2 separate regions of the Homo sapiens genome follow, and region 1 is linked to region 2. The links are contacts of gene promoters, found by promoter capture Hi-C in blood cells and fetal thymus (Javierre and others, 2016). All regions are on one chromosome and are shown on one strand. Each heading gives the region's core, a stretch centred on a gene start or on the middle of the fragment in contact. The rest is flanking DNA. Distances are from core to core; before and after follow the strand shown.

Region 1 (3,367 bases), core at 189-2,688, 260 kb before region 2:
TTATCTATATCTCTCTTGCTATGCGCATGCATATAAAGACATATACATACACACACATATTTATCTGCTAAAGTCTTGTGAAAAGATTAAGTGGTCACATCTATGGAAAAACAAAGCCTGTTTTCTTAGGGTTATAATCTCTCTGTTCTTGCTGAAGTGCTAATGTGTCATCAAAAATTCAAATTAAAGCTGTCTGATTTAGTGCGATCTCAAGTATCCAGACAGTGATTCTGCCGATGTAATTATATGCAATTAAAAAGCTAAAATCAACTTCTTTACTAGTGGGTTCCTCTTTATAAGCAGACACAAACAGATGATTTTAATGGCCTTCAGAACTTAAAAAAAAATTCCATGGTTGTCAGCTGGACCCTACGTGGGGCCCCCTTGCTGTTGTGATGACTTTTGTGCATGATGGAAATACTCAGCTGAAGTTACAATCCCAGCCAGTATTTCTCACTGCAAATTCTGGGCGGCATAGCTAATGAGCTACTTCCAAATGAACAACTGAAAACAAAATGATGTTTACAAGAATGAGTGGCCAGACACATTAGGAGTCTGGCCCTAAAGGTTCATTTTAAAACACACTTTATATGACACAGGCAATACCTAACTGTAGTGAACTACATCCAAGTTCACAATTTATTAACCATCATTAGTATTTTAAAAAGCTTAGATTTTTGCAAGCACAGGGTGGATGAGCACTCTCTAAGGGGGCTATGGAAATGCACCTTTCTTCATATTTGCGCTCAGGGCACAGGTAAGCCCCGGATCAAAGTAAACCGAAACTTATCTTTGGCATGTTTAGTAGAATGTGGTGATCATTTTGAATTGATCTGAGCCCCGTGCTTCTAGTAAACAGTAACAGGTAAGAAATCCCCCTACCCTTCTGCTAACCGCAAAGGATCACCCTGCTCTCACAGAGGTAAGATCCTTTTCCATCTTTCCTCGTGACTTCTCTAAGACTTGCTGGTGACCCCCTTGTTTACCTGCCTTCATAAGACCTCAGAACCCTCCCTTTTCTTTGAGCCATTCCTCATTAATAAACACTCTCCCTACTGCAATAGCCCTAAATAAAATCATCTTCTTAATTGTCCAGTGCATTTTGTCTTTCACAGTGATCAGAAGATTTGGGTCTAACAATGAAACAAAGCCATTTGGTGTGAAGCCCAAAGTCACACTGGAATTTGAGTGTTGGAGAGACAAAAATCTAACATCATGGTTACCCTGATTTTTAAAGGGACCACGCAGATGTGCAATTTATCATATACCTTGATTAATTGAGAGAACAACCAACCATACTATCTGAAAATGTAATTACAATCAGGTTTGGAAAAGCAGAAAAGCTACCAGTGACAATTTAATTTAGAGGAGTTAAACAAGTTAACATCTCTTAGTAAGTAATTAAATGTTTAAACAGATTTTTCTAGAGCAGTTTGGTGTTTATTAGCCCCCAAACATTACCACCTCTTATACATAAAGCCTTAGCTGAGAAATGAGATGCCTTCAAGTTTGCAGCTGCTGGGATGACATGAAGGAAAAAAATCCAAGAGCGCTATTCTGATTTTAACTGATACCCCGCCTTCTAGGACCCATGCCAACTTGTTGTATTTCTAATGCCACTATTTACTTGCTGTCTAAGCAAAATGTCAAATTTCAATTGCAAACTGCATCCTGTGTTTCTTTTTAGGTGCCTAAATTGAAAACCAAACCTGAGGAAATGCTAAATGCCTTTAAAGGATGTCCTACTCTGGAATGTACAAGGAGATGCACAAAATAACAGGCATTACTAGAACCTAAGGAGAAAACCCATGTTTTTAAACAATTACTAAAGCAGTATAGTAACAGCATAAAGAAAATTTCTTCGCCAGCTTGTTTCTCTGAAATTCTCGCTGCCACTGAACAGCTAGAACAGATAATAACTATTAGTAAATCAAACTCCTCTGCAATATCCAGCTGTGCCTCACGCATTTACATACAGATAGAATGGGTATATGTTTTTAATATGTATGTGATACGTACTTTTACCACAGCCGAAGTGCATGCTACAAAGGAGGGGGAGAATGGGAATCAGATCAGCATGAGATAATAAAGTGGCCTAGATAAAGTATTAGCCAGCGATTGATCTCAAACCGGGATGCTGCTTCTTCTGACCTGATTACTTACTATGCATAGATTCCATTAAATAGAGCTTAGACACTGAAAGCTTCTGGAAACACTCTAAATGCATAGAAAGATCTACCGTACTCTGAGCCCAAATTGTAACTGTGTGGGTGCCCACAGCCCACACCTTCCCCGTTCAAGTTAAGGCCCACAATCAGGCTAGGCAGGGAAGTTAAAGGGCTGCCTGACAGCTGGTGCAAAGCCCTGCTGAACCCCATAGAAAGCACCCCACCCCACCCTCAAGCAAGCACTCTCCCGCTGAGTGAACACTTCCCTCCCTACAGTCAGCTCCTGGCCAAGTAACTCTAAAGGACAGAAGCAAGGGAGCTTAACAATCATTGAGGGTCAGGGTCCCCTTTGAAAAATGTAGCAGTCATGAATTCCTGTTTTTGGATGAAAAGAAACATCTCCACATGCATAGATAACTTCGGATGTAATTTCTGGGGTTCTGACTTCCTAAAGTCACAGACCATTGGTCAAGGGCTGCCCCCTCGGTTTTGCAGATGAAAAGACACTGAAGTGGAGAGGGGATGGGGAGTTGGCTGAGGTTACACAGTGAAGGGATGTGATGGAGGTTCTCCCGGCTAAGTCACATCCTGACCTTAGCTACCAAATAACTCTGAAGGATGATTAATTCCTCAGAAGGAATTCCTTGTGGTTTAGAGAAGCAAATGGTCTATACAGTAATATCTCACATACCCCTTTTATTTAAAAATATTTAAACACAGAAATTGAATAGCAAAACCAACCTGAACCCCCATCTTAATGCTCTCATCTTAGGTTGTCTTTGTCCCTGAATTTAAGGGTCTGATTTTTATGTTTTTGCATCCTTCCATTTGATTATTGACATTTAAGGGAAATTTCTCTACCATCTTTGCATTATCGCTGTCTCCCCTCTTGCTGCAGTCCCACCAATCCTTTCTGACTGGCAAGGGGCTGGCTTTTTCCCACATAAGCCATGGAATCCCTGCATTTTTCTGAAGGCCTGCTGGACATTCTGTCTGCTACCTCCTCAGGGTCTCTACTGTCTGAAAATTTGTCCCTAAGTTTGTTGGTCCCAGTTCACAGAGCTGGGGCAGCACTGACACAGGTCTTTCCTGGGAGTTGCAGCAGCGTGATTTAAAAGCAGATTATTTAATAATGGAATCATTATCCAGGAAAAGAATTGGAGGCAGAAGTGGAGGTGGGGGTGGGGGTGGGGTTCTAC
Region 2 (3,647 bases), core at 78-2,577:
TGTAATAGTATTAGTAGTACGGCTGCGCAGGGTTTAGTTTTAATCCTGGCTTTAAAAACCTGGCTGGGTAACATGGTTCATTCAGCTCCATGGCTAGATTTTGAATCACTGAAATCTAGATTGATTTTATGCCAGCTATTAGTAAGTTCAAAACATCTTGAGGCCTTCTGTTTTCCCCTGACCTATAAAAGATACACCCATGTCCATGTTCGTACCTCCCTCTTCTGTCATTAAACCAAAAGAAAATAAACACCTAGTGACAGTAAACATCCTCAGGGCGTCTCCATGAAAATATACAAATATTAAAGATCTTTAAAAATCTTTTAGGCCTAGCACCTCAGGAAGCTGTTATGTCTGGTGAAAACCTTTGGTGCTTTTAGTAAAACGAACTTGCCGGGAATTCATACAAAGAAAACAAAAGAAACTTAAAAGAGTAGTTCCAGTTATTGCAACATAAACGCAGCTGCAAAGTGATGTTCACGGGAATGAGTCCTGCCATGCAGTAGGACGGATGTCAACTTCAGAGCCACTTTCTAGGGGGCGTTTCCTGACGCCCCCTGGCTTACTGCCCAGGCCAGGGGTCTACTCTGGTTAACATGGGCAGGACAGGAGGGCGACCCGCCCCTCCCTAGGCCCGAGGACGCGCCCGCAGCAGGCGAACGGCTTCGGGTGCCAGGAGCTCAGCAAGCTGGGGACCCCCTGGGCGAGGAGTACAAAGGACCCCAGGCGAAGCCGGCGCCGGGAGGCAGAGCTGACTCCCGCGGGACTCTACCGGCCTGCGAGCGTTCGTCACGTGCTCGGTGGCTGAGGGGCCGTCCCGGCCGGGCGGGCTTCACCGCGTGGGCGCGGCAGTCGCCACTCACCGAGGTTGACGACCTTGAGCGCCGTGAAGAAGCGGTTCTGCCGGGCCAGGTCCTGCCAGGGAGCCTTGGAGCAGTGGTACTTGATGAAGGGGAAGCAGCCGGTGCGCAGGACGTGGTAGTTGGCGCCCTGCACCGGCCAGTTGAAGTGCGAGAGGCCGAACTGGTCGTTGCGGACGGCGCTGTAGGGCACGCAGAAGGAGGTCCAGTGCGGCAGGCGCCGCTGCAGCAGATGCCGCGTCAGCACCTCCGAGGCGCTGGGCTTGGGGCGGGCGGCGGCGCGCGAGGCCCACGGCCTACACAGCAGCAGGCGGAGCGCGACCTCGTGGGCCCTCCTCAGGGCCTCCATGGCCCGCCGCGCCGGGGACGCAGGCTGGTGTCCGCAGCCGCTGGCGCGCAAGCGCGCCCCCGGGCGAGCGCCGGGAAGGCCAACCGGCGCCGCGCGGGTGCCCGAGAGCCCCCGGTGTGCGGCGGCGCGTGCGCACAGCGGCCCCGTGGCCTCCCGCTGGGGGTGGAGTCCGGGGGATGGGAAGCGTGAGCTGCGCGAGGCGGAGGGTCACCTGCGTCAAGGAGCTGGTTTTGAGTGGCCAGGTGTGACCTCACGCCGTCATTAGTAACTCGGGCAGGGGAGGGATTCGGGGAGGTCTCATCAATTTGGGCCTGAGGAAAATTCAGGTGGAAGACAATTAAATAACTAACCACCTCCGCAAGGTGCAGAACTCAAACCCAAGTCTCCCTCCCACGCCCTGGGCTCCAGGGAAGCCCTTGGGTGTTGTTGTTGAAACAGGACGAGGCGTGACCCCGGGTCTGCGTTGTTTGGTAAGGCCGGGAGCACTTTTGTGTGTAGGTCCTCGCTGTCGGGTTCACTGTTTAAAATTAGTCCCAGAGATTTCAAAATCAAAAGTTTATTTAAAAACCTCACGTGTCTCAGTGCAGCGTCCGAACACACAAAGGCACCTCCCTCTAAGAACCTGGTAGACGGACCAGGAGCCTCTTATCGAGCTTTGTGGACCTCAGTCACCCATTACCAATCCATTACTTTCGGAAAAGCTTTGCTCAAACTTTGCGGCCTCTTGAGGCAGTAACTTACGGACAAAACTGCTTTTAGAAAAGGATTTCCTCTTTTGTCCTAAACTCATTTTGTTTGGAGAGGCCATACATAAACAAGATGATGTGTCTGAAACCACCTTATGTAAATGAGGTACAGTAATTACGCGTTAAGCATCATATAACAATTACTATCGTTGCTAAAAACTCAAGGGGGATGTAGGATAGTATGGCGAAATTTTATATTCCCCAGTTTTTTGTTTTGTTTTGTTTTGTTTTTTTGAGACGGAGTCTCACTCTGTTGCCCAGGCTGGAGTGCAGTGGTGCAATCTCAGCTCACTGCAACCTCTGCCTCCCAGGTTCAAGTGATTTTCCTGCCTCAGCCTCCCGAGTGGCTGGGATTACAGGCGTGCACCACCACGCCTGGCTAATTTTTGTATTTTTAATAGAGACGGGGTTTCACCATGTTGGCCAGGCTGGTCTCAAACTCATGACCTCGTGATCCACCTGCCTCGGCCTCCCAAAGTGCTGGGATTACAGGCGTGAGCCACTGCACCAGGCCTATTCCCCAGTTTTTATTGAACATTGAGCACCCACCAACATATGCCGAATCTTGAACTTTACCTTACAGAATTTGAAGTTGAACTTTACCTTATAGAACTTGAACTTTATAGAATTTCTTTTTCTTTTCTTTTTTTTAGAAAGGATCTCACTGTTGTCTAGGCTGGAGTGCAGCTGCTCGATCTCGGCTCACTGCAACTTCTGCCTCCTGGGCTCAAGAGATCCTCCCACCCTCAGCCTCCCAAGTAGCTGGGACTGCAGGTGTGTGCCACCTACACTCGGCTGCTTTTTTTGGTATTTTTTGTAGAGGTGGAATTTTGCCATGTTGCCCAGGCTGGTCTTGAACACTTGGGCTCAAGTGATCCGCCCGCCTCGGCCTCCCAAAGTGGTGGGATTACAGGTGTGAGCTTCTGCACCTGACCAAATTAAATTTTGAAAAAGAGTGGAGTCCTTTTTCAAACGAAATCTGTTGAAGGTCCCCAACATATAAAGTTGGTTAAAACTTATGCTTTAGGCCGGGCACGGTGGCTCACGCCTGTAATCCCAGCACTTTGGGAGGCCGAGGCCAGTGGATCATCTGAGGTCAGGAGTCCGAGACCAGCCTGGCCAACATGGCGAAACCCTGTGTCTGCTAAAAATAGAAAAATTAGCCGGGCGTGGTGGCACATGCCTGTAGTCCCAGCTACTCGGGAGGCTGAGGCAGGAGAATCACTTAAACCCAGGAGGCAGAGGTTGCAGTGAGCTGAGATCGTGCCACTGCACTCCAGCCTGAGCGACAGAGCGAGACTCCGTCTCAAAAAAAAACAAAAAAAACAAAAATAACTTATGCTTTATTACTAAGCATAAGTTCAAACTTTTTTTAACTTTTTATTTTACTTATTTTTTAGGCGTGGGTTCTCACTATGTTGCTTAAGCTGGTCCAGAACTCAAGCCAGTCTCTCACTTCAGCCTCTTGAGTCGTTGGGATTACAGAAGCCACCATGTCCAACTGTAAGTTCAAATTTTTTATATTAACTTTATAGATAAAAAACAAAACAATGAAACTTCAGTGTGTTGTTGTCTTGGATTTTCTTTTGTTTTGAGCAGAAAGGGGATTCATTGGAGGAAAATTAGGTAGCCCAAATAGTAAACAAGAAGTCTAGAGAACCAGGCTCAGAAAATGGGAAGGAACGAGGAGAG

What was found. Contacts are between HindIII fragments. The CHiCAGO score rates a contact against its expected background, and 5 or more counts as called.
Region 1: a contact is called between a fragment that was not itself captured here and the fragment with the promoter of C15orf61 in region 2, in 3 of 17 cell types (naive B cells, total B cells and fetal thymus). The highest score is 7.3, in naive B cells.

Annotation. Positions count from the first base shown.
Region 1 is chr15:67,776,192-67,779,558 of GRCh38, reverse strand. All of the region lies in intron 21 of MAP2K5 (mitogen-activated protein kinase kinase 5), which reads right to left. Among named protein-coding and RNA genes, the nearest start is that of SKOR1, 48 kb to the left of the region's middle. The HindIII fragment of the contact is 1,535 bases long and covers 671-2,205 here.
Region 2 is chr15:67,518,811-67,522,457 of GRCh38, reverse strand. C15orf61 (chromosome 15 open reading frame 61) reads right to left here and starts at 1,327. Exons shown (of 2, transcript NM_001143936.2): 1 at 864-1,327. The coding sequence starts at 1,209. It overlaps IQCH-AS1 (IQCH antisense RNA 1), which reads left to right and starts at 614. Exons shown (of 6, transcript NR_040052.1): 1 at 614-939; 2 at 3,356-3,458. RefSeq lists enhancers at 901-1,020, 1,661-1,740 and a silencer at 1,131-1,480. The HindIII fragment of the contact is 4,154 bases long and covers 1-1,912 here.